Linked DNA regions of Homo sapiens: regions 2, 3, 4, 5 and 6 are each linked to region 1. The links are contacts of gene promoters, found by promoter capture Hi-C in human tissues and cell types (Jung and others, 2019). All regions are on one chromosome and are shown on one strand. The core of a region is centred on a gene start or on the middle of the fragment in contact, and the rest is flanking DNA. Distances in the headings are between cores, read along the strand shown.

What was found. Contacts are between HindIII fragments. The study calls those that stand out against the background at their distance.
Region 2: a contact is called between a fragment that was not itself captured here and the fragment with the promoter of RASD1 in region 1, in 1 of the 25 tissues and cell types used here (heart right ventricle).
Region 3: a fragment that was not itself captured here is called in contact with the fragment with the promoter of RASD1 in region 1 in 1 of the 25 tissues and cell types used here (dorsolateral prefrontal cortex).
Region 4: a fragment that was not itself captured here is called in contact with the fragment with the promoter of RASD1 in region 1 in 1 of the 25 tissues and cell types used here (pancreas).
Region 5: a fragment that was not itself captured here is called in contact with the fragment with the promoter of RASD1 in region 1 in 3 of the 25 tissues and cell types used here (H1 embryonic stem cells, aorta and dorsolateral prefrontal cortex).
Region 6: a contact is called between the fragment with the promoter of SREBF1 here and the fragment with the promoter of RASD1 in region 1, in 1 of the 25 tissues and cell types used here (adrenal gland).

What each region holds. Positions count from the first base shown.
Region 1 is chr17:17,493,909-17,498,512 of GRCh38, reverse strand. RASD1 (ras related dexamethasone induced 1) reads left to right here and starts at 2,118. Exons shown (of 2, transcript NM_016084.5): 1 at 2,118-2,617; 2 at 2,829-4,076. The coding sequence starts at 2,332. The coding sequence ends at 3,388. RefSeq lists silencers at 1,398-1,627, 1,678-1,807, 1,968-2,187. The HindIII fragment of the contact is 34,145 bases long and covers 1-4,604 here.
Region 2 is chr17:17,984,145-17,988,748 of GRCh38, reverse strand. It overlaps DRC3 (dynein regulatory complex subunit 3), which reads right to left. Exons shown (of 14, transcript NM_031294.4): 5 at 651-817. LOC107984989 (a long non-coding RNA gene) reads left to right here. Exons shown (of 3, transcript XR_001752801.2): 2 at 242-363. Among named protein-coding and RNA genes, the nearest start is that of DRC3, 14 kb to the right of the region's middle. The HindIII fragment of the contact is 5,475 bases long and covers 103-4,604 here.
Region 3 is chr17:17,925,796-17,930,399 of GRCh38, reverse strand. The region is part of intron 1 of TOM1L2 (target of myb1 like 2 membrane trafficking protein); the gene reads left to right. Among named protein-coding and RNA genes, the nearest start is that of TOM1L2, 44 kb to the left of the region's middle. The HindIII fragment of the contact is 3,577 bases long and covers 605-4,181 here.
Region 4 is chr17:17,901,944-17,906,547 of GRCh38, reverse strand. All of the region lies in intron 2 of TOM1L2 (target of myb1 like 2 membrane trafficking protein), which reads left to right. Among named protein-coding and RNA genes, the nearest start is that of SREBF1, 67 kb to the right of the region's middle. The HindIII fragment of the contact is 5,652 bases long and covers 1-4,604 here.
Region 5 is chr17:17,884,611-17,889,214 of GRCh38, reverse strand. TOM1L2 (target of myb1 like 2 membrane trafficking protein) reads left to right here. Exons shown (of 15, transcript NM_001082968.2): 5 at 4,447-4,581. Among named protein-coding and RNA genes, the nearest start is that of SREBF1, 50 kb to the right of the region's middle. RefSeq lists enhancers at 1-406, 3,635-4,394, 4,395-4,604. The HindIII fragment of the contact is 4,674 bases long and covers 187-4,604 here.
Region 6 is chr17:17,834,971-17,839,574 of GRCh38, reverse strand. It overlaps SREBF1 (sterol regulatory element binding transcription factor 1), which reads left to right and starts at 2,589. Exons shown (of 19, transcript NM_004176.5): 1 at 2,589-2,848. The coding sequence starts at 2,758. RefSeq lists enhancers at 1,008-1,909, 1,910-2,812, 2,813-3,714 and silencers at 2,581-2,740, 2,931-3,210. The HindIII fragment of the contact is 17,140 bases long and covers 1-4,604 here.

The sequences.
Region 1 (4,604 bases), core at 869-3,368:
CACAGATGGTACCAGGAATCACTGTGGCTGAGGACACAGGCTAGATCAGTGCCTGCCAGTGTCATGTTCCTGATTTAAGGGGCCAGCCTGGACACTGACCAGGGGAGAGCTGGGCTGTGATCCTTGACCCTCGGGCCCTCCACTCATATCAAATGGACCCTCTTGGGACTAGAGCCCCAGGAGGCAATGGCTGTGTGGGGTCCACCTTCACTATAGCCCTGGCCATCAGTCATCCCAAGTTAGAGCCCGGCTGCCCATGCAGTGCCGCTGTGGGAGGCACAGGAAGGCGGTGCTCAGTCTGAAGGTGGTTCAGGTCCGTACCTTAACTGAGCCCCCCCATGTACCCTCAACTGGCTCCTTTATGCAGTGAACACCCTGCACCACTGCAGCCCTATATCCAGGGCTGCGACTCAGTTCCTTCTCCCCTTCTCCCAGACTCTGGCAGACATACCTCAGATGGGGGCAGGAACCAAGAATGGCGGGGCTCCAGCCCCAGCTAGCCTGTCGGATAACTGCTGCATAAGTGACACCAGGAATCAGAGCCAGGCCAGGGCCACTGATGAGCCCTTGGATGCTCACTGTGTGATGCGTGCATTTGAAATATCTGACAGTAAGAGTGAGGCCTGGGAGAGATGCAGGGACTCTGAGGATGGGGGCCAAGCTGGGCTGAGAAACAAGTTAGTGGTGTCCTGCAGCAGCCCCTACAGCAAGTGCCAGCGTGGGAGGGAGGTGGGTAGGCATGGGGTGGGTGGTATGGCACTCACAGCACTGCCTGCAGACCACCACCTGACAGCTGGGCCGGTGGTGCCAGCTAATGGCTCCCTAGTTTTCTCGTAAGTCAGACGTGGCCAAAGCAAAACACTGAGCACACAGGTTGCCTTGAGGAGCAGTGACTGCCTCAAGAGCTCAGGGCTGAGGAGCTGGCTCCAGACAGCCTGTTGCCAATGTTCAGCAACATCACCCCACTCCTGGTTACTGATCGACCTGGTGTGCTCTTGAGAGTACCCCCACCAGGCCTCATGGGTCAATACTACTGTTATTGTTGCTATTGTTATTACCAGGCCCCGCCCTCCTAAAGCATTTGCATATTTTCATCCTTAATCACAGAACCAGAATCAGTATCTTCCAGAAGAGAAAACTGAGGCCCAGGAGAAAGCAAGAGGCTGTGCTGTGCTCCCAGGGCCTTCCTGGCTCGCTGTGGCTTTGAGCTCCAGGTCTCTCAGCTAGACAATGAGAACGTCGGCCCACGCGCGGCACAGTAAAAGCCCAAAATGCTATGATGGACGGGGTGGGCCGCTGGCTGCAGAGCCCTCCATACCACAGAGCATCTCTGGCTGGGAGAAAGGAGCAGGCTGAGGCCTGCAGCAGAGCGCGGGGTTGGGGACCGCTCCTGTTGGGCCCCAGCAAGGCGCCCTGAGACCCCTGCTCCATCCCTGCCGCTCCCCACCCGCCTGCTCCTAGCCTCTGTTCTAGCTCTGCCCGCGGCGGCCACAGCCTCCCCGAGCCGCCGGCCGGGCCCTCTGCTGCCCTCTGGCGGCCCGAGCGCGCGGTGCCGAGCTCCGCGCCTGAGGCCCTGAAACCCCGCGTCCGCCCGGCGGTCGCCTCCCGGGAACAAGAGCCCGGCTGGGGACCGGAGCGGAAGGGGGCTGGGGCTGGGGCTGTGCTCTGAGGACTGCAATATACGGTCCGCGCAAGCACTCAGCAAACGCTGCTGCGCTTACTGGGTTACTTACTAGATTCCTATTCTCTGGGGAAACTGAGAACCAAAGAAAATAAGTGTACGCGCGCGGGAGGTGCAGGAATGGGGGTCCTTGCCCGAAGTCGCAGAGGGACAGGGGCACCGCCGGGACCAGAACCCCGACGCCCCTGCGGCCGCCGAGCCCGCGGCAGTGGAAAAGCGGAGTCCGAGCGCCTCCAGCCTCAGCCCGACCCTGGACTGCTCCCCCCAGCCCCCGCGCCCAGAGAGCAGGAGCCCGGCAGCGGGTGACGAGGTCGCCGGGACTGGGAGCCGGTGCGGGGGAGGCGGGCCCCGCGGGGCGTGACGCACCGAGCTGGGAGGGCCGGGGCGGGGCAGCCGAGCAGGCTGCATATAAGGGCGGCGGCCGGGCGCCAAAGCCAGAGCAAGCGGCCTGTGCCCAGATCCTGGGAGAACCCCAGCCGAGCCCAGCCTAGCCCGAGCCCAGCCCGAGCGGAGCCGGAGCCCCAAGCCCGAGCCGCGCCCAGCCCGAGCAGAGCCCTCCAGCCGCTCACCCCGCGTGCCACCCCAGCGACCCTCAGCCGCTCTCTGCCCTTCTCTCGGCCCCGCGCCCGCCCTCGCGGCCCCTCTGCCCAATGAAACTGGCCGCGATGATCAAGAAGATGTGCCCGAGCGACTCGGAGCTGAGTATCCCGGCCAAGAACTGCTATCGCATGGTCATCCTCGGCTCGTCCAAGGTGGGCAAGACGGCCATCGTGTCGCGCTTCCTCACCGGCCGCTTCGAGGACGCCTACACGCCTACCATCGAGGACTTCCACCGCAAGTTCTACTCCATCCGCGGCGAGGTCTACCAGCTCGACATCCTCGACACGTCCGGCAACCACCCGTTCCCCGCCATGCGGCGCCTCTCCATCCTCACAGGTGAGCCGGGGGCCGGGCAGGTGCGGGAGGGAAGGGCGGGGAACCCTCGGCCAGGGCGCCCCGCGAGCGCCGGTCCGGCTGCCGCGCGCCGAGTAGTGCGCTTCGCGCTTAGAGAGGCTAGCGCGCCCCGCGCGGCCTCAAAGTCAGCCCGACTTGTCCCCTGGGCGGCCACCCTCACCTTCTCCTTTTCTGCTCTCTGTGCCCCCTCTAGGAGACGTTTTCATCCTGGTGTTCAGTCTGGACAACCGCGACTCCTTCGAGGAGGTGCAGCGGCTCAGGCAGCAGATCCTCGACACCAAGTCTTGCCTCAAGAACAAAACCAAGGAGAACGTGGACGTGCCCCTGGTCATCTGCGGCAACAAGGGTGACCGCGACTTCTACCGCGAGGTGGACCAGCGCGAGATCGAGCAGCTGGTGGGCGACGACCCCCAGCGCTGCGCCTACTTCGAGATCTCGGCCAAGAAGAACAGCAGCCTGGACCAGATGTTCCGCGCGCTCTTCGCCATGGCCAAGCTGCCCAGCGAGATGAGCCCAGACCTGCACCGCAAGGTCTCGGTGCAGTACTGCGACGTGCTGCACAAGAAGGCGCTGCGGAACAAGAAGCTGCTGCGGGCCGGCAGCGGCGGCGGCGGCGGCGACCCGGGCGACGCCTTTGGCATCGTGGCACCCTTCGCGCGCCGGCCCAGCGTACACAGCGACCTCATGTACATCCGCGAGAAGGCCAGCGCCGGCAGCCAGGCCAAGGACAAGGAGCGCTGCGTCATCAGCTAGGAGCCCCGCCGCGCTGGCGACACAACCTAAGGAGGACCTTTTTGTTAAGTCAAATCCAACGGCCCGGTGCGCCCCAGGCCGGGAGCGCGCGCGGACTGGCGTCTCCCCTCCCGGCGATCCGCCCCCAGCACTGGGGAGGCGCCACTGAACCGAGAAGGGACGGTCATCTGCTCCGGAAGGAAAGAGAACGGGCCAAGACTGGGACTATTCCCCACCCCCGGTCCCCCATTGAGGCCCGCCACCCCCATAACTTTGGGAGCGAGGGCCCAGCCGAGGGTGGATTTATCTTCTCAAAGACCTAAGAGTGAGCGCGGGGTGGGGGAGGGATGTGAAGTTATCCAGCCTCTGCTAGGCTTCAAGAAACCGTCATGCCCGCTTGAGGGTCAGGACCCACGGGGCATTATCTTGTCTGTGATTCCGGGTTGCTGTGACAGCCGGTAGAGCCTCTGCCCTCCCAAAACTAAGCGGGGGGGCGTGGGTCAAATCATAGCCAAGTGACTTGTTTACATGTGAGTGAAACTGCACAAAGGAACACAAAACAAAACTTGCACTTTAACGGTAGTTCCGGTGTCAACATGGACACGAACAAAACCTTACCCAGGTGTTTATACTGTGTGTGTCTGAGGTCTTTAAAGTTATTGCTTTATTTGGTTTTTTAATATACAATAAAATAATTTAAAATGGAAAACCGGTTTTTTTTTTTTTTTTTTTGCTTTTAGAGATGGCTGGAGTGGGGAAGGGTGGGGAGAAGGAAAGGGCTGGGCTTTGACTTAGGTGGAACTAGAACTTACCTTCCCCAGAACTGGAAAATAACCCTGGCCTTCTGAAGGCAGCTTCAGCTGCCAGAAAAGCCCCAGATGCCTGGGGCATCTATGTAGGGGATGGTTCCCTAGAAAACCGGGAAGAATATAAAGGATTTCAGGGTCCCCCCTGGAGATGAACTCTTTCTAGCCATCCACCCGCTTAATTTTCTTTGGGTTAGATGACAAAAGGCCTCATTTTCTGAGAGAATGTTCTGAATTCTTCAGCGTAAAAGCCACTGGAACTGTGCCTAACCATTTTGTCACCAGACTCAGTGTGGGCCCAGGCAAACTTTCGGACTGTTGGAGGCATCAGTCAGGCCCTGGGGAAAGAGCCTGAGACCCCATCTGGAAACAGGACCATCCTGGCGCGCCCCCACCACCCGCTCACTCCAGGGTGCCACCCTGTCTGGAAA
Region 2 (4,604 bases), core at 1,591-4,090, 490 kb before region 1:
GGCCACCTGACTGACCTAAGCAGAAAAGGAATCTTCAAAGGCTACTGGACAGCCCCCAGGGTTGATGGGTTGCAGAAGCAAGCCAGGAGCCATCTGATGTGTCGCCTCTGACACAGGACGACAGCTGTGGCAGCTTAAAGCTGCTGCCACACCCCCAGCTGTGTCCACTGCCACTTGTGCACACCCCTAAGCCTCAGGGTGCCCTCCTACCACCCATAGGCCTTGTTTTATTGTTCCTCAGGACACCGGCTTCTTGTCTCCTTGTGCCTTGACTATGGGGGTGTGTGCTGGTCACTCCAAAGGGACCACATCTCGTCTGTCTCTGTTCCCAGTGAGCACAGGACATACGCCCAACACTAACAGGTATGTACCTCAGCAAATGTTTGTTAAATAAGTGCAAGACACAGGGAAAGAACCGCCACTAATGTGGAGGTTGTAAACTAGTGCTCTCCGATGAATTTTGTTGGGTAAGCATGGTATTTAAACATGAGCAAATCCCTCATGGAGTAATCCAGATTCCTGGCTTTTCCAGGAAAATGAGAAGATCTGAACACTCAGCCTGTACTTCCCCTAGCCACAGACCCCCACTCAACCCACGGCGCTCCAAGGCTCTGCAGGTGTGCGTGAGGGCGGGCTGGGCGGCCACTCACGTTCATCATGTTGTCAATCCGGTTGTTGCCCAGCGACAACACCTGCAGCTTGACGAGGGCGTCCAGGGAGTCGATCTTGGAGATCCGGTTGTTGAACAAGCTCAGGTCCTCCAGGTTCACCAGTGTGTCCAGCCCCTCGATGGTCTCAATGTTGTTGAAAGACAGATCTGGGAAGAAGAGAGGGCTGTGAGGGTCTGCTGCCTGGGTCAGGGGATGGGCTGTCCTGAAATAAAACCATCAGGGCTACTGAGTGCCCTGTGAGCCAGCACCAAGCTGCCAGGGCCAGAATTTGACTCACTGTCTAATAGTTTGTGATTTTTTTAGAAGCCAGGTGTGAATTATTTCCTGCAGCCTCCAATATTCACTACCCTCTCCAGTTCCGCCAATCATCCTCCTGGCTGGGGACATGTGGGCAAATACTGGTGTCTATGCTCTGCCATAGTTCTGGGAGGAAAATACTAACCCGCAGGTCTGAAGCAGTGCCCTTGGGGGTCGGGGTAGACAGCGGTGGAGTGTCCCCTTTCCTCACACCTGTGGCATTTTAGCAAGACCACCTCCTGTGTGCTTTGCATTTACCAGTTTATCAAGCACTCGTGTATATCCTCTGACAGCAGCCCTGAGTGGTAGTTTGGAATTTCTCTTGCTGTTTTATCATTTGGGAAGCAGAAGCTCAGAGAGACTCAGTGATTTGCCCAAAGCCACACAGCTAACCACAGTGGGGCCAGAGTTCATCTAAGGCTTCTCCCTGGACATGTGGCAGGTCAGGTTCCTCCAGCTCCATCACAGCTGTCTCAGGCTCCCTCAACCCCAACCGAGACTTTTGACTAATTCCACATCTTTGGGAATAAAAGTACCTTCCTTTTTTTTTTTTTTTTTTTTTTTTTGAGACAGGGTCTCGCTCTGTTGTGCAGACTGGAGTGCAGTGGCGCAATCACGGTTCATTGCATCCTTGACCTCCTGGGTTCAAGTGATCCTCCTGCTTCAGCCTCCTGAGTAGACTGGACCACAGGTATACGCCATCACATCCAGCTAACTTTTTAAAAAGGTTTGTATAGAGACAGGCTCTTACCATATTGCCCAGGCTAGTCTCAAACTCCTGGGCTCAAGTGATCCTCCCACCTCGGCCTCCCAAAGTGGGGATTACAGGTGTGAGCCACCATGTCCGGCCTAAAAGTACTTTTTCCCCACTACAGGTTTTCAGGGTTACCTGGCAGGTGGGGCTGTTATCTTGTCCTGGAACACCAATGGCCTAGAGGCCAAAAATGAGCATTTTTCCTGGGCTTGGAAATATGAGCATGATAACCACAGGGTGATCACATTTAAAAGGTGATTTGGGGCTGGGCGTAGTGGCTTACACCTGTAATCCCAGCACTCTGGGAGGCCGAGGCGGGGGGATCACTTGGGGGTCAGGAGTTCCAGACCAGCCTGGCCAACCTGGCAAAACCCTGTCTCTACTAAAAATACAAAAATTATCTGGGCATGGTGGCACATGCCTGTAATCCCAGCTACTCAGGAGGCTGAGGCACGAGAACCACTTGAACCTTGGAGGTGGAGTGAGCCGAGATTGTGCCACTGCACTCCAGCCTAGGTGATGAAGTGAAGCTTTGTGTCCAAAAAAAAAAAAAAAAAAAAGGTGATTTGGGAGATGAGTTTAACCACATCTTAATATAGCCTCCTCCGCATATCAGGGGATGCTCACCTGTTGACATTGAGACCAATGATAACTCTGTCCTTTCTCTATGCCAGGCCCTTTAAGTGCATTACCTTGTTTAATCCTCATAGCACAGATAGCATCATCCCCATTTTATAGATGAGGAAACTGAGATTCAAATGGGCCTCATGGTAATATGCTCAAGGTAGCACAGCACATAAAGGAATCGAGGTTCGGGCCAGGTGCAGTGGCTCACGCCTATAATCCCGGCACTTTGCGAGGCTGAGGCGGGTGGATTGCTTGAGGCCAGCAGTTCGAGATCAGCCTGGTCAACATGGCAAAACCCTGTTTCTACTAAAAATACAAAAATTAGCCACCCATGGTGGCACATACCTGTAATCCCAGCTACTTGGGAGGCTGAGGCATGAGAATCACTTGAACCTGGGAGGCAGAGGTTATAGTGAGCTGAGATTGTGCCACTGCACTCCAGCCTGGGTGACAGAATGAGACTCCATCTCAAAAAAAAGAAACTGAGGTTCACAGAGTGGAATATCTTGTGCAAAGTCAGTATGTTGGCCAAGCTGGGGTTTGAATGGGGGTCTAACAAATGCCAGGCCTGCACACTTCCTTTCCCACCGTGCCACTGGGTTCTGTTCTTGGGAGGCTTAGCCTACCCCCTAGTGGTGTGCTAGCAAGTGTTTACCAATGGGGGCTGAGGAAAACCCCTGATTTGAGGTGCTTGCTCATTTCTGTGGTGTAAATACTCCCACCGTGGCCAATTTCAAGCTACCAGCGTGGCATCCCTGGAAGCAAAGTTGGGAAGAAATGTGTATAGCCAGCTGTTGAGAGCCAGGGCTAGCCAGCTCCAGCACATCCTCAGCCCTGTGCATGTCAGTGTGGGAGGTCGTGCTGAACCATGGGAGTGCCACCTCCCTAACCCCCATCCTCAGCACCCCAGGGATCCAGCTCTTCTGGCTGTGGTTGGGTCCCTGGGCACCTAGTGCCATGGCTGGACAAAGACCAGCTTCTGCCTATACTCTGAGGGGCAGTGTGACCTCTTAACAGAGCCTGCCCTCACTGCTCTAGCACCCCCATCCCAGGGAGCACTGGCCATCAGTCCAATGACCCTTGGAAGCGTGGATGGCCACTGCAAGGGGTTGGGGGAATGAGCTGACTAGGAAGTGTGTGTGCAGGGGCTCCAAGTAGTAGGAAAATAAGCTTCTGTTAGGGAGGGAACCAAGACCAGTATTCAGGTTTCTCTCTGGGTAAGCAGACAGAAAGAGGGAGCTGTCATGGGGCTCAGTGGTACTTGCTTTATGTCTGAGAGACAGCCAGGCCAGAGAGCTCCTGCTTAAAACCATGGCATTCATGAATCAGCATTAATGGGTGCTAGAGTGCAGAGAAATGAGAAACCTGGGACAAGAGACCTGGGCCCAGGTGTGAGAGGACCTGGCTGTGGTTTGCTCCTGCTACCTGTAGCACATGACTCCATCAAGCTGGTCAGCCTCCCTGAGCCTCAGTTGCTGCATGTGTGAAATGGCAGCATAACCCTGCCTGTGGGTTTGCTATGGGCTTGCAATTGTCAGCACAAAGGAGGATGGGAGTGTTTGGCAAATTGGAAGGCTCACGATGCCCCAGGGTGCCCTTATTACCAGAAGACCGCCTAATAGGATGGAGGGAATGTGGGCTGTGAGGTCAGACAGGCGTGGGGGTGAGTCCCAGCTCTGATACTTCTTGGTCGTGCAGCTTTGGGCAAGTGCCTGGGGCTCCCTGAGTCTCAGCTCCTCTTCTGTAGATTGGGATTATAACAGATGCCCAACTCTTAGGATTAAAATGGGGGTTAAACAAGACAGGGCATAAGGAGCTCTCAGGCCCATCACCTTCTCCCTGCTAGGGACCCATTGCCCCTCACCAGATGTGAGGATGCTCCTAAGAGGCCAGCAGAAGGAACATCTCATCAAAACCCTCCATGGCCTTGGCAGTGAGACCTGATGTGGTGTGGTGACCTCAGTTTGCTCATCTCTATGACGGGGATGCTGTGTGAACTGAAAGACCCATATGGAAAGCATATAGGCCCCACTTAGCATGTAGTTAAGTGCTTGATACACACTAGCCTCTGTGACGATTATTCCTGGTTTCATCTGGGTCCCACCAGCCAATGGTTACCTGTCGATGGTTATCTGTCAGCCTGAGTCTAGATTAAATAGGAGTCCACAGCTGCCCCTTTGTACCCCATCCAGACTGAAAGTTTGGGCAGATGAGAGCAGAATATTCTGTGGTCTTGTGTCTGAGCACATCTTTGC
Region 3 (4,604 bases), core at 1,144-3,643, 430 kb before region 1:
AAAGTTAGGTCCTACACATTCCCAGACCCCCCTTTTTTTTAACCACTTTCACAAGAGTCTCTGATTTGGTCATTTCCTAAGACCATCTGGACCAATTTTTTGGTTTTTGTTAGGAGAATGGGCTAAAGTTTGTATGTTGGTAATTCTCTATACCCCACTTTCTGGAGCACTTAAGGCAACACTCGGTAAAATGACTGCATAATGAGTAGTGTCAGCATTCCAGTCCAACAAAAAGAGGCTGTCTCATGGTCTGATAACCTTAAGGACTTCAGGCTTGGCAGTCTCATTTCTGAAGAACTAGAATGGAGTGTCTTTTTTGTTTTGTTTTTGGAATGGAGTGTCTTAACCATGGTGCTCTTGCCTTCCTGTGTGTGCCCAGGCATGGGCTCTGTATCTCTGCTAGTGGTCTTCATAAAGACACAGAGACAGCCCTCCCAACAGAGCTGTCACTCACTCTCTGTAGTACCTCACTCATCGCAGCTGCCTTGCTGTTGTGGAAATTCATGTTGTGTTTAACTTGTCTAAGTGTTCATACCAACAGTCACAGCTAAAGCTCTAGGGCAGAAGTGGTATCTGACTGAGGCCAGGGATTGGTGAATAACCTGTTGAAAGTGTGTGCAGAATTGTGTGTGTAATTCTCTGGAAAGGTCTTATCAGATTTTCAAAGGGAATGTATTCTTCCTTTAACATCTTATCCAAAAAGTTAACTACTGCTCTGAAAAATGACAGTCTATGGATTTCTTCCTGACATTCTTTTTTTTGTTTTTGAGATGGAGTTTTTGCTGTTGTTGCCCAGGCTGGAGTACAATGGTGCGATCTCGGCTCACCACAACCTCCGCTTCCCGGGTTCAAGCGATTCTCCTGCCTCGGCCTCCTGAGTAGCTGGGATTACAGGCACATTCCACCACGCCTGGCTAATTTTGTATTTTTAGTAGAGATGGGGTTTCTCCACGTTGGTCAGGCTGGTCTGGAACTCCCGATCTCAGGTGATCCACCTGCCTCCCAAAGTGCTGGGATTACAGGCGTGAGCCACCACGCCCAGGCTCTGACATTCTTGAATATCCCTATCAACCCCTCTCACCCACCCAAAGCCTGCTGCTCAAAGCAGCTCTAAGCAGAAGAGATGGAGAAACATTCAGACTGGGTGGAGCATGGCCCAGGCTGTGTTGCTGCCCACTTCTGTCTAGATGGGCAGTTCTTGACTTCCCCGCCTGACGCTGCTGAGCAGCCACAGTCCCGACTGCATTCTGGCTTGTACCCTTTACTATAGTGCCAGCCACAGAGAGCAGCCATGCAGCATTTTTAAGTAGCCAAGGAAAGGCCCGTTCTCACAGCAGTGCTTGGGGAATCTTCAGACTTGGTATTAGGAACCATAGCAATGAGACTTGTTACAAGCTTGCAAAACAAAATGGGATTTTTCTGTGTGGTCCAGCAAGGATCTAGACAGAAAGTCTGCTTGATTTTGTTTTGCCTTGCTGGCTTCATAAACCCACGTAGCAGAAGCACTTTGTGAATCAGAAATGGAAGCATTGTTCTCTGATACTGAGGAATGCCTTTCCTGAATGGCTACTGTGGGTGGGAATAGCTCTAAAGAAAAAAAAAATCCTGAGACACAGACAGCAGCTATTTATGTTCTATTCTGTTTGACACACATTATTGAATACCTACTGTGTGCTGGTAAAATTCATGGTGCATCAGGGAAGGCAGGTCCATGAGGAACCATTAGACAAGCAATAGGGGCTGGATGAGCCTCAGCAAGTGAGGACTGTGAGATCCCAGAAGAGTGCAATTAATTCATCTCGTGTGTGCATGCTCACGCGGGGGCCGTCTGGGGCCCTCACTGAGAGGAGGCAACGAGCTGAGTGTTAAAGGGAGGGTGTCGCCTTCTGTGTTCTCTTTTGACCCTTTCCATTATGTGAGCATGCATTTTTACCTTGTGGTGATTAGTATGCACATAATATTTTATCCTGCCTGTTTTCCTCTTAGCATTCCTATGCCGATTTCCACTTAGCGACTAGGCTGAAGTATTTATCATTTTAAAAAGCCACGTAGCGTTTTTGCCTTATTGATGTACCCTCGTTGCTTAGCCATCTTCTCGTTTGTTGGGAGCAGCAGTGTTTTTCTCAATTATGCATCTTTGCAGAATCAGCTCTCCCCTTCCCCCTTATTTATTTCCTTAGGGGGCTATTGCCGGGTCAAAGTTATGAATGGTTTTATGCTGTCTCCTACTGATTTTTTTTGTTGTTACAGAAAATTTCAGACATATACAAAAGGAAAAAGATGACTATAATGAACCCCCACATACTCATCATTGAGCTTCTACAATTATCAATTCATGGCAGTTTTGGTTCATCCATAGCCCCACACACTTTTATCCTGGATTATTTTTCAGTAAATCCCAGACATCATATAATTTCATCTATGAATACCTAAGTATGCATTTCTAAAAGATAAGGAATCTTTTTAAAAGTATAGCTGACTGGGTGTGGTGGTTCATGCCTGTAATCCCAACACTTTGGGAGGCCTGGGTAACATAGTGAAACCCTGGCTGTACCACGAATACAAAAATTAGCCAGGTGTGGTGGCACATGCCTGTAGTCCCAGCTACTCAGGAGGCTGAGGGTGGGAGGCTCACTTGAGCCTGGAAGGTTGAGGCTGCAGTGAGCCAAGATTGTGCCGCTGCATTCCCAGCCTGAGTGACTGAGTGAGATCCTGTCTCAAAAAAAAAAAAAAAAAGTATAGCCAACAGCTTATTATCATATCTAAAATAAATTAATCATAATCCTTAATATCATAAAATATCTAGTCATCCAACTGACAGTTTAAGATTCCCTAGTGTTTTCTGTGGCCATTCTCACGAGGCCAAATGTTTATTTGCTCCACCATGTTCTTCAGGGAATGTTTCCCTTGATGTATCACATTGAGGTTGAGTTCTTTATCAAGAAAGGTCTGCATGCAGGTCCTGGCCTCAGAAAGAGATGGAGGGAAAGAAGAAGGGATAAAGAGAGGCCTCTCTCCACAGCCTCTGCAGCTGGCCTCATGTGGTTTGCGCCACATAGGGTGGTAGGTTCTCTCTGCCCGTTACTCACATGGTAAACCCAGCTGTGCTGCTTTATCCACATACCAGCTTGACTTGGTACAGTGTGCTGAAAATAATGTCGGGCCTGTCCCTTTGGACTCCACCCCCATTGAAGAATGCAGTTTCATGCTGTTGGTTTTTTTAGTGCTAAAGAAACTAGATAGATACTGTGTTTATTTTTCTACAGTAAAAATCCGAAAAGCTAGGAAAATGCCTATTCCCTGTTGGATTTTGATCTTATTTGCATGTTTCCCTTGGCAAGCTTTGTTTCGTATTATTCAAGGTGACCCACTTAGAACTACTGTTTAAAGTCACATTGTCATTAATAAGTTACACAACCTGTGTGTGATAAGTCTGTTAGCCCTGAATATTGTATAAACAGGAATACATGCTTGTGTTGGGGCTCTTCTTCATATTTAAATATGGTTACATTTCTTTTTCTTTTTCTTTCTTCCTTTTTTTTGAGACAGAGTCCCTCTCTGTCGCCCAGACAGGAGTGCAGTGGTGTGATCCTTGCTCACTGCAACCTCTGCCTCCCAGGTTCAAGCGATTCTTGTGCCTCAACCTCTCAAGTAGCTGGGATTACAGGCGTGTGCTACCAGGCCCAGCTAATTTTTGTATATTTTGTAAAGATGGAGTTTCACCATGTTGGCTGGTCTTGAACTCCTGAGCTCAAGCAATCCGCCCGCCTCGGCCTCCAAAACTGCTGGGATTACAGGTGTAATCCATCACACCAGGCCCAAATATGGTTACATTTAAATGTAATCTTCCCTGTTTGTTCTCACTGTTGATATTCGTGACCTTTCTATGTTGATGAATAGGAGTAATTTCCCAGATGATCTAGAACCCTATTGTATTTGGCTTTGGAATGTGAAACACGTGTACATTTATGTCCGCATCTCCCCTTGTGCCAGTCCAGACTGGCTCTCAGTTTGGTCCTCCTTAACTAGCTGGGTACCCTGGGTGACCTCCTTTGGGACAAGGGAGAGTTAGCAGGGAGGCCTGGTCAGAATAAAATGCCTTTTGAGAGATATTGGGGTTACCAGGCTTTTATCCTTAAGTCTGTATGTTCAGACTAAGTAATGAAGCTTACTTATGTTTAGGCCAGCTTGAAAGCTTGTACCTAGCTTTTTTTTTTTTTTTTCTCCAAGAGACAGAGTTTTACTCTGTCCCCCAGGCTAGAATACAGTGGTATGATCACAACTCACTGCGGCCTCGACATCCTGTGCTCAAGTGATCCTCTCACCTCAGCCTGTGGAGTAGCTGGGACTACAGGTGCGTGCCACTGAGCCCTGCTAATTTTTAAATTTTTGGTAGAGACAAGGTCTTGCTGTGTTACCCAGGCTGGTTTTGAATTCCTGGGCTCAAGTGGACTTCCTGCCTTGGCCTTCCAAAGTGCTGGGATTATGGGCATGAGGCACCACGACTAACCTATAGCCTATACCTAGCTTTTTTTTTTTTTTTTTGAGACAGGGTCTCACTGTGTCACCCAGGCTAGAGTACAGTGGCACCATCATAGCTTACT
Region 4 (4,604 bases), core at 1,084-3,583, 410 kb before region 1:
CATAAACAAGATAATTAAACATATAACCTGGTCAGATGAGGACAAGACTGTGGAAGGGAGATGGGGAGAGAGGAGGCTGGGAATTAGCAATGTTAAATAGAGTGATCAAGAAAAGTCTTGGCTGGGCTCGGTGGGTCACATCTGTAATCCTAGCACCTTGGGAGGCCAAGGTGGGCCAGTTGCTTGAGCCCAGGAATTCGAGACCAGCCTGGGCAACACGGTTGAATCTTGTCTTTACAAAAAATACAAAAGTTAGCCAGGCGTGGTGGTGCACACCTGTAGTCCCAACTACTTGGGAGGCTGAGGTGGGAGGATCACTTGAGCCCAGGAGGTCGAGGCTGCAGTGAGCCATGAGCATGCCACTGTACTCCAGTTTTGGTGACAGAGAAAAACCCTGTCTCAAAAAAAAAAAAAATGAAAAGAGAAGACAAAACAACAGAAAAGTCTCATTTAGAAGGTGACATTGAACAAAGACTTGAAGGAGATGAGGGAGTAGGGGGTGAGGATTATACAAGGGAAGAACTGTCAAGGCTCATGGAACAGCAAACCCAGAAGTCCTGGGACAGAGGGTGTCTGATGTGTTTGAGGAATAGCAAGGTGGCTAATGGGCCCGGAGCAGAGTGGTCAAAGAAGAGAGTACCTGGAGAGGAAGTTACCGACATACTGGGGACCCAGATAACACAGGGCCATGTAGAACCAGAGCAACTCTGGCTTCAACCTTTTTGGAGATTCAAGCAGAGGAGTGGTGTGGTCCCACTCTTATTGGAAAGAGATCACTCAGTCTACTGTGTTCAGAGTGGCCTGACTGGGGGCAGGCCAAGGACAATGCAGAAAACCCAGCGATGGCCTGGCATAGTGGCGTGCACCTGCAATCCCAGCACTGTACGAGGCTGAGGCAGGAAGATTGCTTACGCCTAGGAGTTCGAGGCTGTGATGAACCAGGACGGTGTCACTGCATTCTAGCCTGGGCGACAGAGTAAGACCCTGTCTCTAAAAAGAAAAAAGAAGAAAGAAAACCCAGTGAGGAGGTTATCACAGTAATACTGGTGTGAGATGATGATTAGAAGTGATGGGATTCTGAATGTGTTAGATGGTAGAGCCAATGGAATTGGCTGACATAAGACAGGAATGAAGAGTTAAGGGAAATTGCAAGGTTTGGGGCCTGAACAACCATGGGATGGAGCTGCTGTTTCCTGAGGTGGAGCAGGCTGGGGAGCAGAGATCAGCAGTAGATCTTTGCTGCCAGCCAGGCTCCTGGAAGATGTGACAGGGAACTGCACAGGGAACTTGAGTTGGGGGCAGTGGCCTGCACTGGATGAAAACGTGGGAGTCTTTGGTGAAAGGTGGCATATTTTCACCAGCTAAATATAGGTGATCAGCTTGGTGCCTGGTACACAGACGTGACTCACAAATAGTTGTTAGGGACTACACATCTCTAATCCCATCGTCACTGGGCTCCGAGTGGCTACCTTCCTCACGTCCTCCTAACATGCCACTCATTCACTTGTTTGTCCAGTCATCTGGCCATGTTTACTGACCCCCAGGGGTGGAGGTATAGCAGCTACGGGATGCCAAGGTGAATGTTCCAGCCTGCCCTTGAACGCTCACCTGGCAGGACTGGCAAGGGCTGTGGCCAAGGCCTGTCCCTGATGCCATGGTCCCAGAGGGAAAGGTGGGTATCAATGCTTCCTGGAGGGGCTGTCTTCCAGGATGGCAGGAGAAATGTGTCCCGTAGCCAAGGGTGGCATCAAAAGGGCCAGTGTGTCAAGGGATACAAGCTGTCTAGGATAGACAGGGTGACATTGGGGGAGCGGGAGGGTCTGGAATCCGGCTGGAAAGGTAGTCAAGGTCAGGTGCTGCATTCTCTGGTGTCTGCACTTTACCCTAGAGGTGGACCTCTGCTTCGACCCCTTCCCTCCTACCCCTTCCTGCTGCACAACGACCAAGTTGCTCCCTTGCTAACAAGCCTTCAGGGGTTTCGCAGGCACTTAGGTTAAAAACCCCAACCAGGCCCCTCATGAGGAGCCCCAGACCCCTCGGCAGCTCCACTTTGAGCTCTTCAACCCTGCTGATCTTTCAGCTCCTTGAATTTTCCATATTCCTGGGCCCAGCTTGAAATTCTCTACAGATTTGAGCAATATACAAATATGTTGGCAACTCTTATTTTCCAGTGAATTGCTCAAATATCTCTATGGCTTGAGGGCAGGAAGCCCAGGAACCCCAGGAGCTTCCTTATTCTGAAGGGGCCAATGCCTTCTTTTTCAAATCCTCAATTCCCAGAAGGCTGGTCACACACATCTTTCTCTTCAAGTGGCTAAAGCTCCTGTTGCTACCTTTTTGAGTGAGAGCACCTCAGTGATTCCTGAGAATGTTTTCTTGTTGCCTCTGCTGTGAGGTGTCTCAAAATCTCTTCCTAGCAAGGTGCAGTGGCTCATGCCTGTAGTCCCACCTATTCAGAAGGCTGAGGCAGGAGGATTGCTTGAGCCTAGGTGTTTGAGACCAGCCTAGGAAATGTAGTGAGACCCCATATCTTAAAAATAATAATAATAATAATAATCTCTTCCTGAGTGAAAGAAACTCCCACAAGTTGGACTGACAGTAGGGCACCCCACCCACCCCTTTGTGCCCTCCCTGAAGGCCTCTGACCTGCTGTCCCTTCTGTTCTCGTCACCTCTTTCACTAAGTAGATCCCGTCATTCACTGGATCTCTCAGTTTGAATCTCATTTCCCTAACCCCTTCCCCTCCTGATTTGGACAAGTCCTCTGTTATATGATTTCATAACCCGTGTTGTACTGATGCTCATCACAGTTTAAACTTACAGATCTGTGGGACGGTTGTTAGTGTCTGTCTTGCCCTGCAACCCCCGCAAGGCTGTGATCTCCATGAGGACAGGATTTCCATCTGTTTTACCCAACATTTTTTTTTTTTTTTTTTGAGATGGAGTCTCGCTCTGTCGCCCAGGCTGGAGTGCAGTGGCGCGATCTCGGCTCACTGCAAGCTCCGCCTCCCGGGTTCATGCCATTCTCCTGCCTCAGCCTCCTGAGTAGCTGGGACTACAGGCGCCCGCCACCACGCCCAGCTAATTTTTTTTGTATTTTTAGTAGAGACGGAGTTTCACCATGGTCTCGATCCCCTTACCTCGTGATCCGCCCGCCTCAGCCTCCCAAAGTGCTGGGATTACAGGCGTGAGCCACCGCGCCCAGCCAATTACTCAACATTTTGTCCCTAGCACCTAGCACAATGCATTTGATTAGCTGTTAATAAATATTTGTTAAATAAGTGAATAAATGAATGAAGTCTCTAAGGTACTCACAGTCTGATGAGGAATGCAGGCATATAAACATATGCATAACGAGTGCTGGGTGGGGGGCAGGGAGAGAGAGAGAAGCTATATATAGCTACGGAGACTAGTGCAGTGGCAGTGGTCAGCCTTGGGACTTTTGGCAGCAAAGCCTTCTTGGAGGAAGTGACACCAGACTGGAGTCTTACAGAGTGCCAGGGTATCAGCCAGATGAGGCAGGTGGATGAAGGGGAGGAAGGTGGACACCACAGGCTGGAGCAATTCTAGGTCACCACTCGCTTATTGTGCGAGCCTGTGTGAGTTACTTCATCTCCCTGTGTCTGTGTCCCATTTCCTCACTTATAAAATGGGGTTGCCAATAATACCTATCTCATAGGGTTGTTACAAGGATTAAAGGAGTAAATATATATGATGTATCTGGCTACATAACTGTATCTTCATATCCATACTATATCTATGTGGATGTACTATTTCACTTTAAAGATTTCCATTGCCCATGACTTTTGTCATCACTTTCATTTGGGTGTCAGTTATCTGCCCAGTCTTGGTGACTATCTTGGTGGATTCACTGCCCTTACCCTGTCTGCTGTCTGTGAGCACTTGGCATGTGCCACGCCCTGCAGGCCCTGTGTCCAGCCCTGCAGTGCATCATCACAAGCAGCGCCCCCTACCCCCAACAGTTCTATATGGTAGTGACAGCCTGTTTCAGTGTTAAGGAAACTGAGGCTGAGTAGTTTGGTCACTTGCCAAAGGCCTTGCAGCACAGCTTGGAAGGGCACATGCAGGATGCAAGCACAGGCTCACCTGGCCGCAGCCACTGAAGTGCTGCCTGCACTTCTTGTATTTGTGCAATACTTTACCAATGGGAGGCTGTGGTCCTGGTGGGTGCAGATTGGTAAACTGCCCGAAAGGCCTCTCCTTGGGCTTTCCCTAATGTCCAGAGCTGAGGTCACCATCAGCCTGAGGAATGCTGATGCCTAAGGCCTTGATGACAGTCCTTCAGGCATTAACCAGGAGTGGCTGACTGAATAACCTACCTGGGACTGTTTTTATTTATTTATTTATTTTTGAGGTGGAGTTTTGCTCTTGTCGCCCAGGCTGGAGTGCAATGGTGTGATCTCAGCTCACCACAACCACCGCCTCCCAGGCTCAAGCAATTCTCCTGCCTCAGCCTCCTGAGTAGCTGGGATTATAGGTGTGTACCACCACGCCCGGCTAATTTTGTATTTTTAGTAGAGACAGGGTTTCACCATGTTGGCCAGGCTGGTCTTGAACTCCTGACCTCCCACCTGCCTTGGGCTT
Region 5 (4,604 bases), core at 1,274-3,773, 390 kb before region 1:
GCTTTCTGTCTTCTGGCTGCCCTCCAGCCATCCGTAGCCACCCCATCCCCCTCAACCCGCCAAAAGACAGACCCAGCAGTGTGGTTCTGGTACTTTTTACCAACATGTGCGAGGGCTCAGTCGGCTTACCCGCACCACAGGATCTGCCTTTCTGGATGGAGCCGGTCTCCCTGGGAGGATGGGAGGAAAGACACATTGAGAGTGGTGCAGCCTGGTTGGTAGCTTGCTGACACTCACTTCTACCCCCAGGGGCACCAAAGACTTCCCTTCCGGCAGCTTTCAGCTTCACCCCTATGTTTTCACCTCATGCCTTGGCTGGTGTTTTGGCTTGTGTCCCTTTTTGTTTGCTTACATTAAGTCCCATTTGTTGAGAAGACAAAAAGGATGCTCCCACTCTATGCCATCCCTGAGCCTTTCCCTTGAAATTGTTTTCAGGAGCGGAAATGGAGTCATCCTGGCAGAGTCACCTCAGTGTGGTCATGCCTCTCCAGCCCCCCTCCCCATGCCCCAGCAATAGTCTAACCATATGCACTTTCCACTGAAGAAAGTGAACTGATTGGGGTGGGGATGGGAGTGGGGACAGGAGAAACTGGAGGTGTGTGTTCTTTGAAGACGTCAGAGCCTGGTAGCTGGGCTCTGGCCAGATTCTGTGTGGACAGCAGCTCCCTGGGGACCCTGTCACTGGGAATAGGAAGTCTGGTCTGGGGCATAAGCAGGAGCTGACAGAAGCTCCCTTCTATCCAAAGGCATCCCAGAGCCCATAGTTTAAATCAGCAATGGTTTATTGGTCTGAAATTTGATGATTCAAAGCTTTGTCAAAACTTTCAGGGATACAGAAATGAATAGGTTATGGTTTATGTTTGTTTCTGGTTTTATTCTGGGGTTTTGTATACGGTCCAAAGGAATGAAGGAGATCTGAATTGATCTCTTTCCTTTTTTCTCCTCATTAGACCTTCCTCTGGGTCTTCCAAGCCCCTAATCTTGTAGCCACAGGCAGGAAAAGAAGGCTTCCAGTGAACTGACCACTTGGCCATTAACCAGCTAGCTCCTGTGACAGGCCCTCAGAGTGTGCTCACACCGCTGCATCACTTTGCTTTCTGAAAAGGCAGCTTTAAGAGGGGGCAGCCTCCCCCACCCTCAGTGCTGCTCTCAGGCTTCAGGTTAAGCACTCCAAGAGTGGCCAGACCTCCTGAGGCTTGCCACATCTTCTCTAGGGAGTATTCTCAGCTGGGTCAGCCTTCCAGCACCCCTCCTTTGTCACTGTCACTTCAGTCTGTTGACAGCCTAAGTGGCCATCTTTCCTCTGTTCTCTGAAGTAGGAAAATAAGGATGCTTAGTAACTGTGAGAACTGAATTCAGTTTAACCTGATAAATGTTGACTGACTGCCTTCTCTGTACACGGGTGAGAGACTCGGTGTCTGCCTTCAAAAGGTGTCTGGGCTGGGCGCAGTTGGCTCATGTCTGTAATCCCAGCACTTTGGGAAGCCAAGGTGGGTGAATCCCTTGAGTCCAGGAGTTCAAGACCAGCCTAGGCCACATGATGAAACCCCATTTCTACAAAAAATACAAAAATTAGCCAGGTATGGTGGCACATGCTTATAGTCCCAGCTACTCTGGAGGCTAAAGTGGGAGGATTGCTTGAGCCCGGAGGCAGAGGTTGCAGTGAGCTGAGATGGCACCACCATTGTACTCCAGCCTGGGGGACAGCTCTGACCCATGCCCAATTATTGAGGCATGTCCCAAGAAGATGCTAGGGACACATGGCATCTCTGGATGTCTCCCATCTGTACGTTTTCACATATGAATGGGAGACACCCAGAGATGAGAGACACCCAGAGCTGCATTTATTCAGAGGCGCCCCTGCACCCCATTTTTTCCTCTGTTGGCATGAGAATCCTATTCAATAGAGATTGCCATCATGAATATCTGCTCTGTTAGCAGCCATCTCATCCAGTCTGCACAGAGGTCCCAGATAAGGGTTGGAATTGTGGCAGGTAGGAAGCGGGTAGATTAGCCAAGACTACTTGATCGCAAATAACAGATGCCAACTCCAGCTTGCCTAGGCAAAGAGAAGAGTTTGTCATGACAGGGCAGAGTCTCCCAGAAGTCCAGGTCACCCCGCCCTGGGAAGGGACAGAAAATATCAGGAAGGCCTTCCAAATCCTCTCCTGTACGCCTGCACCTCCGAGCACTCTAGCTGCTCCTTCTGGAGAACATAGGCTGTCTCTGCTTCCAGTCCTGTGCTGGCACATGGCCCTGGAGTTACAGAGGACAGTTCTGCCTACCCAGTGAGAACATCCCAGCTTCTAGTGCTGCTGAGTTCCTGGAAGGAGGAGCATCTGATTGGCCCAACTTGGGTGTGCATTTCCCTCCCACTCCAGTCTGTCTCTGTGAACATGGAAGCAGAGTGCCTTAGAAAGTGGACCCGAAGAAGTATCCTCCAACTGGAGAGAAGAGCCATAGTTCTTTCATCTTTATTCCTATTATCTCAAATTTGGCTTGGGTAGAGAGCTAGATGAATTGAAAGGAATCCCTGGAGCTGTTGGTACTCCATGTACAAAGGCATGAAGTGGTGCCAGGAAGAACTGCCATGTGTTTTTTCCCCAGCCTCCGACAGTGGGCTGTGAAACTGGTTTTTAGACCCTAAAGTCAACACCCTAAACTAAAATGCTAGGGCATTTTGAGGTTGGCGTCACAGGACTTAGCTGGATTTTGAACCAGGTGGAGGCAGCCAGCGCAGCTGGTGGGGGCGGGGCCAGAGGCACTCCCTACGGGCAACCTACTCTCCTCCAGCTGGGCCTTCCAGACAGTGCTCTGTGAGGCACTTTCTTTGGCCCTCCTCAGAATCCAGAAGGAGTGTTGGCCAAGAGGGGCTGTCCTGATCCAGTAGTTTTAAATCCCTGAGCATGCAAATTAAATAAGTGCATCAGGGAAAGCCGGGCTGACAGTACTGTTCCTGGTGAGATGCATCAGTCATAATTAAGGAGGCTTTTTGGAAACTGACCTTTTAACTTCAAATGGGTCTGTTGGTTAGAGACAGAGTTTCTGTGGCTGCCTCAGGATTGGTTGTACCACATTGCTGGAGTGAGGGAGACAGTTAAATTCTGTGACAATGACAGACTTGGCAATGGAGTCATGGGCACAGGAGGCTCTGCCTCCTCCTTTGGGTATGTATGGTGAATGGGACAGCATGAGAAGGGCCATTTCTGGGAAGGCCTTTGAGTATTCTGTTTTTGATACAGTCCAAGACTTCCAAAGAACAGAATTTTTTTTTTTTTTTTTTTTTTTTTGAGACGGAGTCTTGCTCTGTCGCCCATGCTGGAGTGCAGTGGCGCCATCTCAGCTCACTGCAAGCTCTGCCTCCCGGATTCACACCATTCTCCTGCCTCAGCCTCCTGAGTAGCTGGGACTACAGGCACCCGCCACCACGCCCAGCTAATTTTTTTGTATTTTTAGTAGAGATGGGGTTTCACTGTGTTAGCCAGGATGGTCTTGATCTCCTGACCTCGTGATCCGTCCGCCTCGGCCTCTCAAAGTGCTGGGATTACAGGCATGAGCCACCGCACCCAGCCCAGAATTTTTTTTTTAATTTTTAAGTTTCATGAGTCAACAGAAATGATAATCTACTTGAATTTTTGCTCTTTCCTCTCTGTGATATGTTTTCACTGAAGGGAATCTGGTGATTGTGCTTTTCTTGGGATTTTTCGATTTGGGCACACATGTGCTGACATTTTTGGCAGCGGACATCATGAAAGAAGCTTGGGTCTGGGAAAAGGACCCCTGGGGGTGAACTCCCCAGTCTGGCCTGGGTCTAGCTCCCAATGGGCTCTTCTTCCCTTGAACCACAGTCATCTCACCTACTGGCAGCAGCGCTAGACAGAGCTAGGCTAGACAAGCTCAGCATTAGTTGTCTCTGATCTGAGGAAACCTGTAGTTAGCCTTTACTTCATGTCACACATCAATTTCTCCTTTCCTTTCTGCTCAATTTGTTGCCGGTTCCCAACTCCACCAGTAGAAGCTTTCAGGGCAGAGGTGCTCCCGCACAGAGGGCAGGCACCCTGCTGAGCTGACAAGGCTCCAGCTTCCACTCCCTGCAGCTGAACAGCCCCAGCAATTGATTTCCTTGCCATTAGGGAAATTCCTGCTTTTTAGGATGCACCACCGTGCATAGGTGTTATTTCTCTGTCTCTTCTCCAAGGAAATACATGCTAAATTAAGTTTTGTGTTTTTGTTCACGCTCAGCAGCACCATTGAAAGCCAGGGTTTCACCAGCTGTGTCGTGGCAGCAGTTGCGGAAGGAGAGGAACAGAATAGGTTTAGCCAGTGCAATTTGCATGTGCAAGTAGGAGAGCACTGGTCTCGGGGAGAGGACGTGGGCCACTTTGGATTTTCAGATACCATGGCAGCTCTGAGAAATGCTTCCTAACAGGCCTTCTATTATCCCAGGCATGGGCTGATGCCTTTCGAAGCAGTCCTGATCTCACCGGCGTTGTGCACATATATGAGGAGCTGAAGAGGAAAGGGGTTGAATTTCCCATGGCAGACTTGGACGCTCTGTCTCCCATACACACACCACAGCGGGTAAGCTTCCAGCTGGCACTTTC
Region 6 (4,604 bases), core at 1,340-3,839, 340 kb before region 1:
GGACTGTGCCCCATGGGGGTTGGATTTTCTGGGGTGCAGGTCTTCTGTTGACCTTGTCTTACCTTCTTTCCCTTTCCCCTAACTCCTGCAGTTATGGAGTGAATATTTATTGAGCTATTCTATTTACATATGTGGTAACCCATTTAAAAACGGTGAGGCGGGTTGGGTGCAGTAGCTCACGTCTGTAATCCGAGCACTTTGGGAAGCCGAAGTGGGTAGATTACTGGAGGCTAGGAGTTCGAAACCAGTCTGACCAACATGACAAAACCCCATCTCTACTAAAAATACAAAAATTAGCCGGGCGTGGTAGTGCATGACTGTAATCCCATCTACTCGGGAGGCTGAGGGAAAAGAAATGCTTGAACCCGGGAGGCCGACGTTGCAGTGAGCCAAGATTGTGCCACTGCACTCCAGCCTGGGCAACAGAGCGAGACTCTGTCTTAAAAACAACAACAACAACAACAACAACAACAACAAAAACAGTGATAGCCAGGTGCAGTGACTCACACTTGCAATCCCAGCACTTTGGGGGGGCCGAGGTAGGTGGATCACCTAAGGTCAGGAGTTCAAGACCAGCCTGGCCAAAATGGTGAAACCTCATCTCTACTAAAAATACAAAAATTAGCCTGGCATGGTGGCGTGCGCCTGTAATCCCAGCTACTCAGGAGGCTGAGACAGAATTGCTTGAACCTGGGAGGTGGAGGTCGCAGTGAGCCGAGATCATGCCGCTGCACTCCAGCCTGGGTGACAGAGAGAGACTTTGTCTCAAAACAAAAAACAAAACAAAACAAAACAAAAAACAGTGAGGCAGATCTGTTGTGATGATGACTCCAAAACACCCTCCCTGCCTCTGCAGAGGGACTGCAGAAAGGGTTATTCCCATTTTATAGATACAGTAGCTGAGACTCAGAAGTGAGGTATTGGATCCAGGTCACACAGCAAGCAGGTGAAAACCCAGATCACCTGCCTAGCTCTGAAGAAAATGGTATTTAGGCTTCACCCAGCACTTCCTATCCCACCCCCTCCCTGGGAAGGGCTGTTTAAATTTTCAGGGAAGTCACCAGCTTCCTGCAGCCTCTAGAGTGTTGGTGGGGGTGGGGCACTGAGGAGAAGCCAGCTTTGTTCTCTGTGTTCTCCAGCAGTTGTTCATCTGGAGGGAGTGGGTCCTGGGTGGACCCTTGAGCAGGGCTACTTGGGGAGATGTGGTTTGGCGACCCCTATGACTTCTGGCGCCGCTATTCTGGGTAATTTTCCACCGCAGCCACTTCTGGGAGAGGAACAAAGGGAGCTGGATGTCCAGGCTGAGCCCCAGGGACTTGGGCTCTGTGGCTTCTCTCCCCCACACACCCCTTCTAAAATGCATCATGAATGTTACTCCTGCTTAGGGCGTGGCCAGATAGGCTATATCTGGAGTTTGAGCAAGGCAGTCTGCAGGATGGCTTGACTTATGAAGGTCTGGGGTCGGGAAGGCCTGAGGCCCAGGCCCCTGATGAGTTTCCTGGACTGCCCTCCACCAAGGGTGCTTCTCTCTGCTTGCATACCTCTGGGGACAGGGAGCTCACTGCCTTATCACATTCAGATTCCTGAATGTTAATTCTGGTTTATTTCAACCCACCTCATTGGGACCCCTTCCCTCCTTCCTGCCCCACCTGGCTCTGTCCCTAGGCCACAGAACCAGGTTCGGTTTCCAGCCCTCTTCTCAACAGGGCTGCCTGCTCTGATCTAGTCCCAGCTTGTGATGATCCAGGGCAGCCTGGCTCTGATCTAAAGCACAGCTACCTCTTCCTTGCGGCCCCTATCCTGGCTGCTCCTGGGAATAAGTGCCAAATCTGGGGTCAGACAGCCCTGGGGCCAGTCTTCCTTGGGTACTGGCTTCCTCCTTCAGGAGCTGCACTGGGCCCACTGGTATCCTATCCCTACAGCTGGATCTGGGAGGAAACCAGATGACGAAATTCCAGCCTCTTTCTTTGGCCACTCCTGTCCTCAAGAGGCCAATCTTCTGGTTTCTTTGCAGAGAGGGGGCAGGCTGATCTCACAGGTCATGCTCCCCTCCACATTGTCACTAGCCTCCCAGCCTGCCCGTGAGAAAGCATCATTAGGCCCATGTTACAAATGAGGAAAATTGAGGCAGAGTGATGTAACTGGCCCAGCAGTTACATCAGGCCTGCTCACAACACAGCAGGCCTGGGACCCCTATAACTTGGATCCTGGTCTGTCTTGTTCTAAAGAGTCAAATCTAGGAAATGAGGAAATGAAGTTTGGGATGGGCCCAGGCCTGGGGCTTCCACTCGGCTTCCTTGCTTGGTGCTGGAGAAACAGAGGCCCAGAGAGGGGGCTCGGCTTGCCCGCGTTCCCGCAGCAGCCGGCCAGAGGCCGCTGCCATTGTGCGCGAGGCTGGATAAAATGAATGACTGGAGGGCGCTCTGGAGGAGGGGCCGGCTGAGGGGAGATTTGTGGCGCAGACCGGGGATCAGGGGTCCCCCGCTCTCTCAAGGTGGGGCGGGGCCGTCTATCTGGGAGGGCGGGTCCTCCCCGAAAGGCCCCGCCTCCGCCTCGACCGCCCAGCAGAGCTGCGGCCGGGGGAACCCAGTTTCCGAGGAACTTTTCGCCGGCGCCGGGCCGCCTCTGAGGCCAGGGCAGGACACGAACGCGCGGAGCGGCGGCGGCGACTGAGAGCCGGGGCCGCGGCGGCGCTCCCTAGGAAGGGCCGTACGAGGCGGCGGGCCCGGCGGGCCTCCCGGAGGAGGCGGCTGCGCCATGGACGAGCCACCCTTCAGCGAGGCGGCTTTGGAGCAGGCGCTGGGCGAGCCGTGCGATCTGGACGCGGCGCTGCTGACCGACATCGAAGGTGCGTCAGGGCGGGCAGGGCTTGAAGCTGCGCCGGGTGGCGCGAGTAGGGGGCGCGCAGGTGTCTCCCTGGCCTTTGTCTCCCCCACGGGCGCCAGCTCCGTGCTGTGCTCGCGCGGGACTTCCCGGTGTCTCTGAGCTCGGTGTCCCGAGCCTCACCGAGCCTCCCTGGTTCCCGCGCTAGCGTCTCGGGCCGCGCGCTTGTGGGTGAGGGCTCCTGGGCCGGGCCGGGGTCCCTTGGCGGCTCCGGGCCGGGACACGTGCGCCTCTACGCGTCCCAGGCCGGGTGCCGCCCGACCGGTGACTCTCCAGCCCTGTGATGGCCACGGCTGAAGCTGGGGACCCAGGCGTCGCCGAAGCTCCGCCCCAGCCCCAGCCGTGACGTAATTGCGAGGTTACTCACGGTCATTCCCTCCGGCCCGAGAGTTCAGCTCGGCGTCGGAGCTCTTGCGCATGCGCATGGGCGCTGCCTCGCGCCCTTCCCCCGCCTCGTGTCGGGTTCTCCCGGTCTGCGACGGGCACAGCCTCCGCACTCATTCACTGACATCCACCGAATGCCAGGCCCCGTCTTAGGCACCGAGGGTTTACAGACAGACCTGGGTACCCCCTCTTTTAGGGAACACAAAAATCTCCCGGGAAACCAAACGGGTATTTAGTTGTACCTTGGGTGGAGCGAGGCTGGGGGAGGGCAGGGATGTGGCTACTTTGGGTAGAGCGGTCAGGGACTTCTAAGCTGAGACCTGAGGGTCACCCCCAGGACCAGCAAGGAAAGATGTTTTCCAGGCCACGGCAAGGGAAGGGCAAAGGCCTCGAGGCAGGGCCTAAGTGTGAGGAGTTAGAGGCTTGCAAAGGAGTGAGGTCAGGGAGGAGGAGGACGCAAACCGACTTGGTCGGCCAGGGAAAGGGCGGAGCAGAACAGTGGCACCGGCTTCCATCTTTGGAGCATCACCCTGGCTGTGATGAGAAGGGGTTTGGGGCCAATGGTGGCACCAAGTGCCAATTAGGAGGCCCGTTGCTTCCATTTTGTAGATAGAGCAAACGGAAGCCCCTAGCAAATTGCCTGCATGGTTTCTGTGCAGGAGTTTTAGCAGCACTAGCTAAGTTGCACTTGGTTGATGAGGAAACTGAGGCCAAGGTCGCAGGAACAAGATGCCTAGACTCACAGCCTGAATGGACATGTCCATGGAACCCGTGGCCACCCTGGGGTTGGCAAAACAGATATATCTATGCCACCACCACTCCTGCCCTACTGCAGCCTTGCAGATGAGCCCAGCTGGTTGCCAGCCCCAGAAGCTTCCCAGCCCTCCCTCCTTCCCCCTGGGGCTGGGCTAGGGGAGGACCCCAGAGGAGAGGCCCTGATTGTGAGGCTTTTCCAAAACAGCCTCCCCTATCCCTGGCACGAGGGGTTGTCCTTCACTGCCCTCTGGAGTGATGAACCCTGAAATCCCAAGCCCTAGGGAGATCTGGGCCTGACTCAACTACCAGTTCCACATCACTGGGCCCAGTGAGTGTAGTCCCAAGAGGCAACGTGACCAAGCCAGGAGGACATGCGCTTTGGGGTCAGAACTTGAACCTGGACACTCCTCACTTCCTTTGTCATCCTGCTCAAGCCCTCTCACCCTCTAAACCTTAGTTTCCACCTCCAGAAAAATGATGCAAACCCTCCCTTCATGGGCAAGTTGGACAACAGAACCCGTTCTGGGCCACAGGTCTGATACAGACCTTTGTTTGTTTGTTTGTTTGTTTTCTGCAGTGGC